2 separate regions of the Homo sapiens genome follow, and region 2 is linked to region 1. The links are contacts of gene promoters, found by promoter capture Hi-C in blood cells and fetal thymus (Javierre and others, 2016). All regions are on one chromosome and are shown on one strand. Each heading gives the region's core, a stretch centred on a gene start or on the middle of the fragment in contact. The rest is flanking DNA. Distances are from core to core; before and after follow the strand shown.

Region 1 (4,459 bases), core at 1,075-3,574:
CACAAGACATATACATTAAAAAAAATACCTTGCACTATTTGTTCCTTTAATTAAGCATGAAATCACTCTCTGTAACTATCATTGTGGGGAAAATCTAAGTTTATAGCATGGAGAGGAATGCAGATGAAGGATTCACTATCGGCTAAGATTGACAGGCACATGGATGCACGATACTGTGTTTTTTCTCAGTGGTCCTTTATTCTGTGCTCCAAGAGGAGCTTAATCCATTAGGGCTTCCTACATGCATGTCATGGTTCCTGCCATGAACAAATTTGCAGTTTAATCCAAGAGACAGAAACCCCTAAACTTGAAACAGTGAGGGAGATGGAGTTAATTTATTAATGCCCTTCTTTTACCAGACATTGCACATTATATTTACCAACTCTGGAGGTAAATATGTAATTACCTCCATTTCACAGATCAGAAAATTGAGATGAAGAAGGGTCATAATTTTGGTCTGAATGAGAGATAATTCCCACTTATAAATTAACACACCAGGTTTCTGATTTTTATAGCTCAGAAAAAGTTTGGATACTGGTGCCCACCACTGAGAGATGAACCCATTCTGGGTGTGTTTGGGAAGGAAGACCAAGGATTGGTTGGGTCTAAACTGAAGTATAGCATCACCAAGACACTGCCACTCCCAGGTCCTCTAAGCCTGCTCTGAGGCCTCCTGGCTTCTTACATTGCCCACATTCCTCTCAGTGTGAGTTATCTGTAACAATGACCACAAGGAATTTAGAAAAGAGAAATTTCTTACAAGAAGAGGTGCATCCAACAGCCAGATGTCCAGGGTGGATAAATGGCGCAGGCTGGATTTCCCCCAGCCCAGGCGATGTGACTTCAGACCTGAGCTACTGAACACACTCTTGCCACATCAGTGAGACAAAATTAAAATTATATTTATCTTTTTGAAAGTGAAAGCAAGTTTATCAAGAATGTAAGGAATAAAAGCTCATTTCATTTACTTTTTTTTTAAGAGACAGGGTCTCACTCTGTTACCCAGGCTGGAGTACAGTGACACCTTCTTAGCTCACGACAGCCTCGAACTTCTGTGCTTGAGCAATCCTCCTGCCTCGGCCTCCTGAGTAGCAGGGACTATAGATGGAAGCCTGGCTCATTTTTTTGTGTGTGTAGAGATGGGATCTCTCTATGTTGCCCAGGCAGGTCTTGAACTCCTGGCCTCAAGCAATCCTCCTGTCTCTGCCTCTCAAAGTGCTGGGATTATAGGCATGAGCCACTGCACCCAGCTAACATTGTATTTTAAAAGGCCTTACCTTTGGGGAAAGTTCCCTTCTCCCAGTCTGTGCTTCCAGAAGTAATAGTATAGCAGCCCCACAGTTATCCAAGATGTTACCATTAGGGAAAACTGGGTGAAGGACACACAGAATTTCACCATAGTATTTATTATTATAACTCCATGTGAATTTACACTTATCCATGTGAATTTACACTTATCAAATAAAGTTAAACAAACAGACTTACAATTTCTTTTAAAAAATTAAAACTTAAAAATGTATACTTAAAATTTGCTAAGAGGGCAGATCTTAGGTGAAGTATTCTTACCACCAAAACAAAATGATAATACTAGAAAAATGGCAGGAGAGAGCTTTGGCAGGGGGAGTGGGATATGTTTTTGGCCTTGGTGGTGATGGGTTTCTGGTATATTGAGATGTAAATTTGTACAGCTTTTGACATGTCAGTCATTCCTCGATGAAGTGGGGTTTTTTAAAGCTAAACAAATATTATAGCAGCAGCATCAACTATCACTTATTCATCTACTCAACAAGCATCCAAGTGTCCTCAACAAGGACACTTACTGCATGCCAGCCACTGTTGTCAGTACTGGGAGATAGCAGAGAATGAAACAAGCAAAACCTTTCTCTTGTGGAGCAGGATTCTAACGTTAGTTGGCTAGACCAAGGCTTCATTCCGACAGGTTGCTGAAAACTCAAGTTATTACATAAACACTAACTACAAAGTGTACTTCCTCAGTTTCCTCAGAAGATAGCTGATTAGGTTTTTCTGGGCTGCTTGACAAGACTCAGACAGTATTTGTGAATATCAAGCTTTGTCCCACGTGGTAAATAAACTTGTTTAGAAACACCTGTAAAGCTTAAACGCGTGCTTTCTTCAACGCGTTTGGAAACTCTAACCCCCTTCTCTTTTGTACTTTTGCTTGCTGTCCACTACAGAGGGTCCAAGCACGAAGCTGTGCACAGAGTCGCTCTCCACAGAGATGCTTAGGATGTGATCCATGAATCGCAAATCCCAGCTAGTGCTCACAAAGACGGACATTTCTCCCCAAGACCATTCCAGTGCCCCAGAGGTCCACAGACATCCAGGAAGATGCAGCCAGCAGACAAAGAATGGCAGCCACCCAAGTGCTGAGGGGAGCCCTCCCGGCCATTTCTGTCCCAGCTCCAAGGGTCTCTCCACGATGGCCTGCAACAGCACGTCCCTTGAGGCTTACACATACCTGCTGCTGAACACCAGCAACGCCTCAGACTCGGGGTCCACCCAGTTGCCCGCACCCCTCAGGATCTCCTTGGCCATAGTGATGCTGCTGATGACCGTGGTGGGGTTCCTGGGCAACACTGTGGTCTGCATCATCGTGTACCAGAGGCCGGCTATGCGCTCGGCCATCAACCTGCTGCTGGCCACCCTGGCCTTCTCCGACATCATGCTGTCCCTCTGCTGCATGCCCTTCACCGCCGTCACCCTCATCACCGTGCGCTGGCACTTTGGGGACCACTTCTGCCGCCTCTCAGCCACGCTCTACTGGTTTTTTGTCCTGGAGGGCGTGGCCATCCTGCTCATCATCAGCGTGGACCGCTTCCTCATCATCGTCCAGCGCCAGGACAAGCTGAACCCGCGCAGGGCCAAGGTGATCATCGCGGTCTCCTGGGTGCTGTCCTTCTGCATCGCGGGGCCCTCGCTCACGGGCTGGACGCTGGTGGAGGTGCCGGCGCGGGCCCCACAGTGCGTGCTGGGCTACACGGAGCTCCCCGCTGACCGCGCCTACGTGGTCACCTTGGTGGTGGCCGTGTTCTTCGCGCCCTTTGGCGTCATGCTGTGCGCCTACATGTGCATCCTCAACACGGTCCGCAAGAACGCCGTGCGCGTGCACAACCAGTCGGACAGCCTGGACCTGCGGCAGCTCACCAGGGCGGGCCTGCGGCGCCTGCAGCGGCAGCAACAGGTCAGCGTGGACTTGAGCTTCAAGACCAAGGCCTTCACCACCATCCTGATCCTCTTCGTGGGCTTCTCCCTCTGCTGGCTGCCCCACTCCGTCTACAGCCTCCTGTCTGTGTTTAGCCAGCGCTTTTACTGCGGTTCCTCCTTCTACGCCACCAGCACCTGCGTCCTGTGGCTCAGTTACCTCAAGTCCGTCTTCAACCCCATCGTCTACTGCTGGAGAATCAAAAAATTCCGCGAGGCCTGCATAGAGTTGCTGCCCCAGACCTTCCAAATCCTCCCCAAAGTGCCTGAGCGGATCCGAAGGAGAATCCAGCCAAGCACAGTCTACGTGTGCAATGAAAACCAGTCTGCGGTTTAGGGGGTCAGGGGGCCACAGAGAAGGGGCAGCTGAGCCCCAGTCCCAGGGTGGATCTGTCCTGCTCTGTTCCCTGGCATGTTGGTCATAGTCTGCACTTTGTGGTGGCAATTTAAGCACAAAGGTACTCATTTGTAATCAGATGAGCTGCAGCTCCCAAATTTCAAATTTTGGCACGATGAATTATTTTTGTTTCTCTTTGCAGAGAGCCAAATATGGGGCTGATGGGAACTGCAACGTCATTAAGTCAAAAATGGAGTGGGCTGGGGAGTGCAGAAGTTGGGCAGAAAGGGAGGAGGAGGGCAACAGGGAATGAAGCTGGTTGAGTGTGGGGCAGGAGGACTGGTCAGTCACAAGAGCTTCAACCTGCCCTGCGAGCCCTCTCTGCACCTGCTCAAGAGAAACCCTGAGAAACCCCAGTAGGTGTGAGCTCCTGGGTGTTCATTCATTTTGTTTGACACCAGGGTTCTTCAGCTATTGATGTTTGTGGTGTGTGGGGACTCACATGAGGTTCTTTATGTTGATCAGATGTGCATTTCTTCCCATGCCTAAGTATCTTTTCTAGAAAGAAACCAAAATCACACGGGGAAGCAGAGTGAGCCTCTGTGCTTTGAGCTCCCTGCAATGACGCATGGGAGGCCTCAGAGGCTTGAAGCCCAGAGAAGGTCCTGGGCAGCCCAGCTGAAGTGAGAAGCACATCCGGGAACTCCTGCATGTCCCCAGCGCCCCCCACCTGCTGGGCCCACCCCGTCCCTGCACCCTGAGGCCACTAGGCCTCCCTGTCTGCTGGAGAGCCCCTTGGCCCTTCCCTCTTTCCTCCACCCCTCTCCCTGCCTCCCTTCGTTTTCCTCCCATCCATATCCAGTGTGCTATAGCTCACCCGCTGAGCAAGCATCTGTAGTG
Region 2 (4,504 bases), core at 770-3,269, 110 kb before region 1:
AGTAATGTTGACAAGTTAGTGTCTCTTCCAAGGTGGATGCACTCTTATGGAAGACAACATGTTTTACAATTATCTTCATTCTTCATGATGCCTCCCACACATCCATCCACATGACTTTACCCTAGACTTCTTTGTACGTGATATTCCAATCTTCTTCCTTTTGGGCTCCTAACCAGTCAACCAGGCCATTCACCATTGCCCAGGAGTCAATATATATTCTAACTCATGCTACTTCCCTTCTCATACAATGTCATTGATAAAGTATACTGCTCAAAGCTCTGGCCTTTGCAAATATTTTCCCTTGCCATTGTCTTTCAAGGTCACCCTTGAAAGTAGTAGTTGTTGCAGCATAGGCTGTAGTGTACTTGATATCCATTTGCAGCTTCCACCCACATACCAAGCCAACCCATTTGCAGCCCCAGCTCAGGCTTTCTCTTCCTCTTTCTTGTGGTTGTAAAGGACCCACACACACACACAGGGCCATAGATGTGAATTGAGATTAGGGGAACTGGTACAACAGAGGTAGATGTCATCGAGGTTTGGAACGTTTGCGCATGCATTCCCTTGAGTCTGGAATGCCTGAATGCATCTAACATCTTACAGAGGATTGCTTATGAGTCCACCCAACCTTATGACTTGGGGAGTCTGCCAGGAACCAGCTCGTGATAGGTAATTCTTCCTGCCTGGTCACTGGTCACTTGCTGTTTTGTGGTCAGGAGACGTGACTCTACCAGGATGTAGTGGCATAGCAGAAGATGCTTGTCAAAAGACAGCATGGCCTCATTACAGAACCTCAGGGTCTTGTGACAAGATTCTTCCATTGGACCCTGTCACAAACTCCACACATCATCTTTTCCTACATTGATATTTCCAATACCGTAAGGTCCAAGTGGCATAAATTTTTGCCCTGAAGCCTAGACCCACTGCAGAGCCATTTCTCATTCTGGGCCCCACTCAAAGCTGGGAGAAATTTATGTTACTAGTACATGGGCAGAAGTGGTATAGAAGATGCCATGACACAGGCCCCCTCCAAAAACTAGAGAGGTCCACCATGCATTATACTTCCTTCTTCACCATGAGAGGTGCAAGATGGAATAATTTGTCTTTCATTTTGAAGGGATGTTCCAGCATGTTTCTGTCCATAGAACCCCTAAAAATGTTACCAATGTGGCCAGTCCTCAAATCTCTGTAGGGGTTTTTCTCCCACCTTCTGGAGCACATGTGCCTTACCAAGGCCTCCAATGTCCTAGCCACCTCCTGCTTATCTAGCCCAGTCAACATGATGTCAGCTATGTAATGGATCAATGCAGATGGTCCAGATAGTGCAGATATCTTCAGACAACATTACAACAGAGAGTGAGTTAACATAACCTCAGGGGAAACTGTATATGTATATTGTTGTCTGTTCCATGTGAAAGTGAACTATTTCTGATCCTCTTTTTCTAATTGTGATAGAAAATAACACATTTGCTGGATCAATGGCTGCATAGCATGTGCCTCATTTTGAATCGCTGCTGTATTCTGGATATTTATGTCTACCCAAAATTCATATGTTGAAACGCTAACACCCAAAGCGATGGCATTAGGAGGTACAGCCATTGGGAGGGGATTAGGTCATGAAGGCAGAGCCCTCATGAATGAGATTAGTTAGTGCCCTAATAAAAGAAGCTTGAGAGAGACTCCTTGCCTCTTCCACAATGTACAGACACAGTGAGAAGCACCATCTATGAACCAGAAAGTGAATCGATACCAAATCTGCCAATGCTTTGATCTCGGACTACTCAGCCTCCAGAACTGTGAGAAATAAATTTCTGTTCTTGCAAGCTACCCAGTTTAAAGTATTTTGTTAAAGCAGCTCAAAGAGACTAAGGCCATCACCCTGCTTTAGCAAAGCCACCTCACCTAATGCAGCAGCTGCAATCAGGGCATGACTTGGTTGAACCTGTGGTATATCTATAGTCTTCCTCCAGGATCCAACCAGTTTAACTGGTGATCAAAAGGAGATATGATAGGGCTTACAATCTCTGTATCCTTTACACTCTTAAAAGTGTCCCTAATATCTGCATTGCCACCACCTCATGCAATATTATTTATGACCAACTATCTTGTCTGGGTGGAAAGGTGGGCAGTTTCAGAGGTTTCCACTTGGCCATTCTCGCAGTACCTCTTACCCCACAGGCCAAGGACCCAAAGTGAGGGCTGCATCAACTGCTAAATATGTTGATCTAATTATATATTTTGGAAATAAAAGTCATCCAAATTGCAAAGGAAGAAGTAAAACTGTCTCTATTTTCAGATAACATAATCCTACATATAGAAAATTCCAAAGAATCTACATGGAAGCTACTAGAGCTAATAAATACATTCAGCAAAGCTTCAGGGTACAAGATCAACACATAAAAATCAGTTTTGTTTCTAAACACTTGCAATGAACAATCCAAAAAGAAAATTAAGAAGATGGTTTCACTTATAATGACCTAAAAGGAATAATATACCAGAGAATAAAATTAACCAAGGAAGTGAAAGACTTGCACACTGAAAACTAAAAAACATGTTGAAAGAAGGGAGATCTAAATAGATGAAAAGACATCCCGTGTTCTAGATGGAAAGACTTAATATTGTTAAGATAATAACACTACCCAAAGCAATCTAGAGATTTAACACCATCCTTGTTCAAATTCCAACAGTGTTCTTTGCAGAACTGGGAAAGCCAACCCTCAAATTTATATGTAATTGCAAGGGACCCCAAATAGCCACACAATCTTGGAAAAAATGAACAAAGGTGGAAGACCCACATCTCCTGATTTCAAAACTTACTATAAAGCTAAAGTAATCAAAGCAATATGGTACTGGCATAAAGATAGACACACTGACCAATGGAATAGAATTGAGAGTCCAGAAATTAATCATACATGTGTGGCCAATTGATTTTTGATAAGGTGCCAACTCTGTCAATGGGGAAAGAATAGTCTCTCCAACAAATGGTGCTGGGACAACTGGATTTCCACATTCAAAAGAATGAAGTTAGACCCCCTACCTCACATATAAATAAAACTTAGCTCAAAAAAGATCAATGATCTAAATATAAGAAAGAAACCTATAAAAATCTTAGAAGAGGCCGGGCGCGGTGGCTCACGCCTGTAATCCCAGCACTTTGGGAGGCCGAGGTGGGCGAATCACGAGGTCAGGAGATCGAGACCATCCTGGCTAACACGGTGAAACCCCGTCTCTACTAAAAATACAAAAAAATTAGCCAGGCATGGTAGCGGGCGCCTGTAGTCCCAGCTACTTGGGAGGCTGAGGCAGGAGAATGGCGTGAACCTGGGAGGCGGAGCTTGCAGTGAGCCAAGATCTCACCACTGCACTCCAGCCTTGGCGACAGCGAGACTCCGTCTCAAAAAAAAAAAAAAAAAAAATCTTAGAAGAAAACATAGGGGTGAGTCTTCATAACCTTGGATTGGGCACTGGGCTTTTAGGGGAGAATCCATTCCTTGTATTCTTCAGCTTCTAGGGGCATCTGCTTTCCTCTGCTCATGACCCTTTCCCAGGAGTGGTATTACTCCAACCTCCACTTCTGTCATCACAGCTCCTTCTCTGACTGACCAAAAGCATAAGTGACAAATGAAAAAATAAATTGGACTTCATCAAACTGTACAACTTTTTCCATCTAAGGATGATTGTTAAGAGGGTAAAAAAACAGCCTATGGAATAGAAGAAAATATTTGGAAATTATTTATCTGATGAGGATTAATATCCTGAATATATAAAGAACTCTTAACACTCAACAATAAAAAGACAAACAACACAATTAAAAAACAGCAAAGGACTTGAATAGACATTTCTCCAAAGAAATATATATATGGCCAATAAGCACATGAAAATATACCTAATATCTTAAGTCATTAGGGAAACACAAATCAAAGCCACAATGAGATACCACTTCATGCCTACAAGGATGACTATAATAACAATAATCAGAATGTAACAAGTGTTGGCAAGGATGTGGAGATATTAGAATTGTTAGTGGTATGGAAAATAGTTTGACACTTCCTTAAAATGCTGAACATATAATCATCATACGACTCAGCAATTTCACTCCTAGGTTTATACCCAAAATAATTCAGAACAAGACTCAAACAGATACTGGTACAGCAATATTCACAGCAGCATTATTTACAATAGCCAAAAGGTGGAAGCAATTCAAGTGTTCATCAATGAATGAATGGATACACAAAATGTGGCATATACACATAGTGGAATGTTATCTGGCCAGAATAAGGAAAGAAGTTCTCACACATGCTACAGTGTGGCTGAACTTTGAAGACACTGTGTTGAATGAAACAAGCCAGACACAAAAGGACAAATATTGTATAATTCCACTTATATGATCTATCTAGATTAGGCAAGCAGAATGTACATTAGAGGTTACCAGCAGCTGCAGGGAGGGGAAGATGGGGAGTTATTGCTTAATGGTTCCAGAATTTTGGTTTAGGATCATGAAAAA

Evidence for each region. The method cuts DNA at HindIII sites, captures the fragments that hold promoters and counts their contacts. A CHiCAGO score of 5 or more calls a contact.
Region 2: a fragment that was not itself captured here is called in contact with the fragment with the promoter of GPR45 in region 1 in 2 of 17 cell types (naive B cells and total B cells); the score reaches 6.1 in naive B cells.

The regions. Positions count from the first base shown.
Region 1 is chr2:105,239,419-105,243,877 of GRCh38, forward strand. It overlaps GPR45 (G protein-coupled receptor 45), which reads left to right and starts at 2,325. Exons shown (of 1, transcript NM_007227.3): 1 at 2,325-4,049. The coding sequence starts at 2,441. The coding sequence ends at 3,559. The HindIII fragment of the contact is 10,787 bases long and covers 2,114-4,459 here.
Region 2 is chr2:105,129,442-105,133,945 of GRCh38, forward strand. No RefSeq gene overlaps it. Among named protein-coding and RNA genes, the nearest start is that of LINC01918, 12 kb to the right of the region's middle. The HindIII fragment of the contact is 706 bases long and covers 1,667-2,372 here.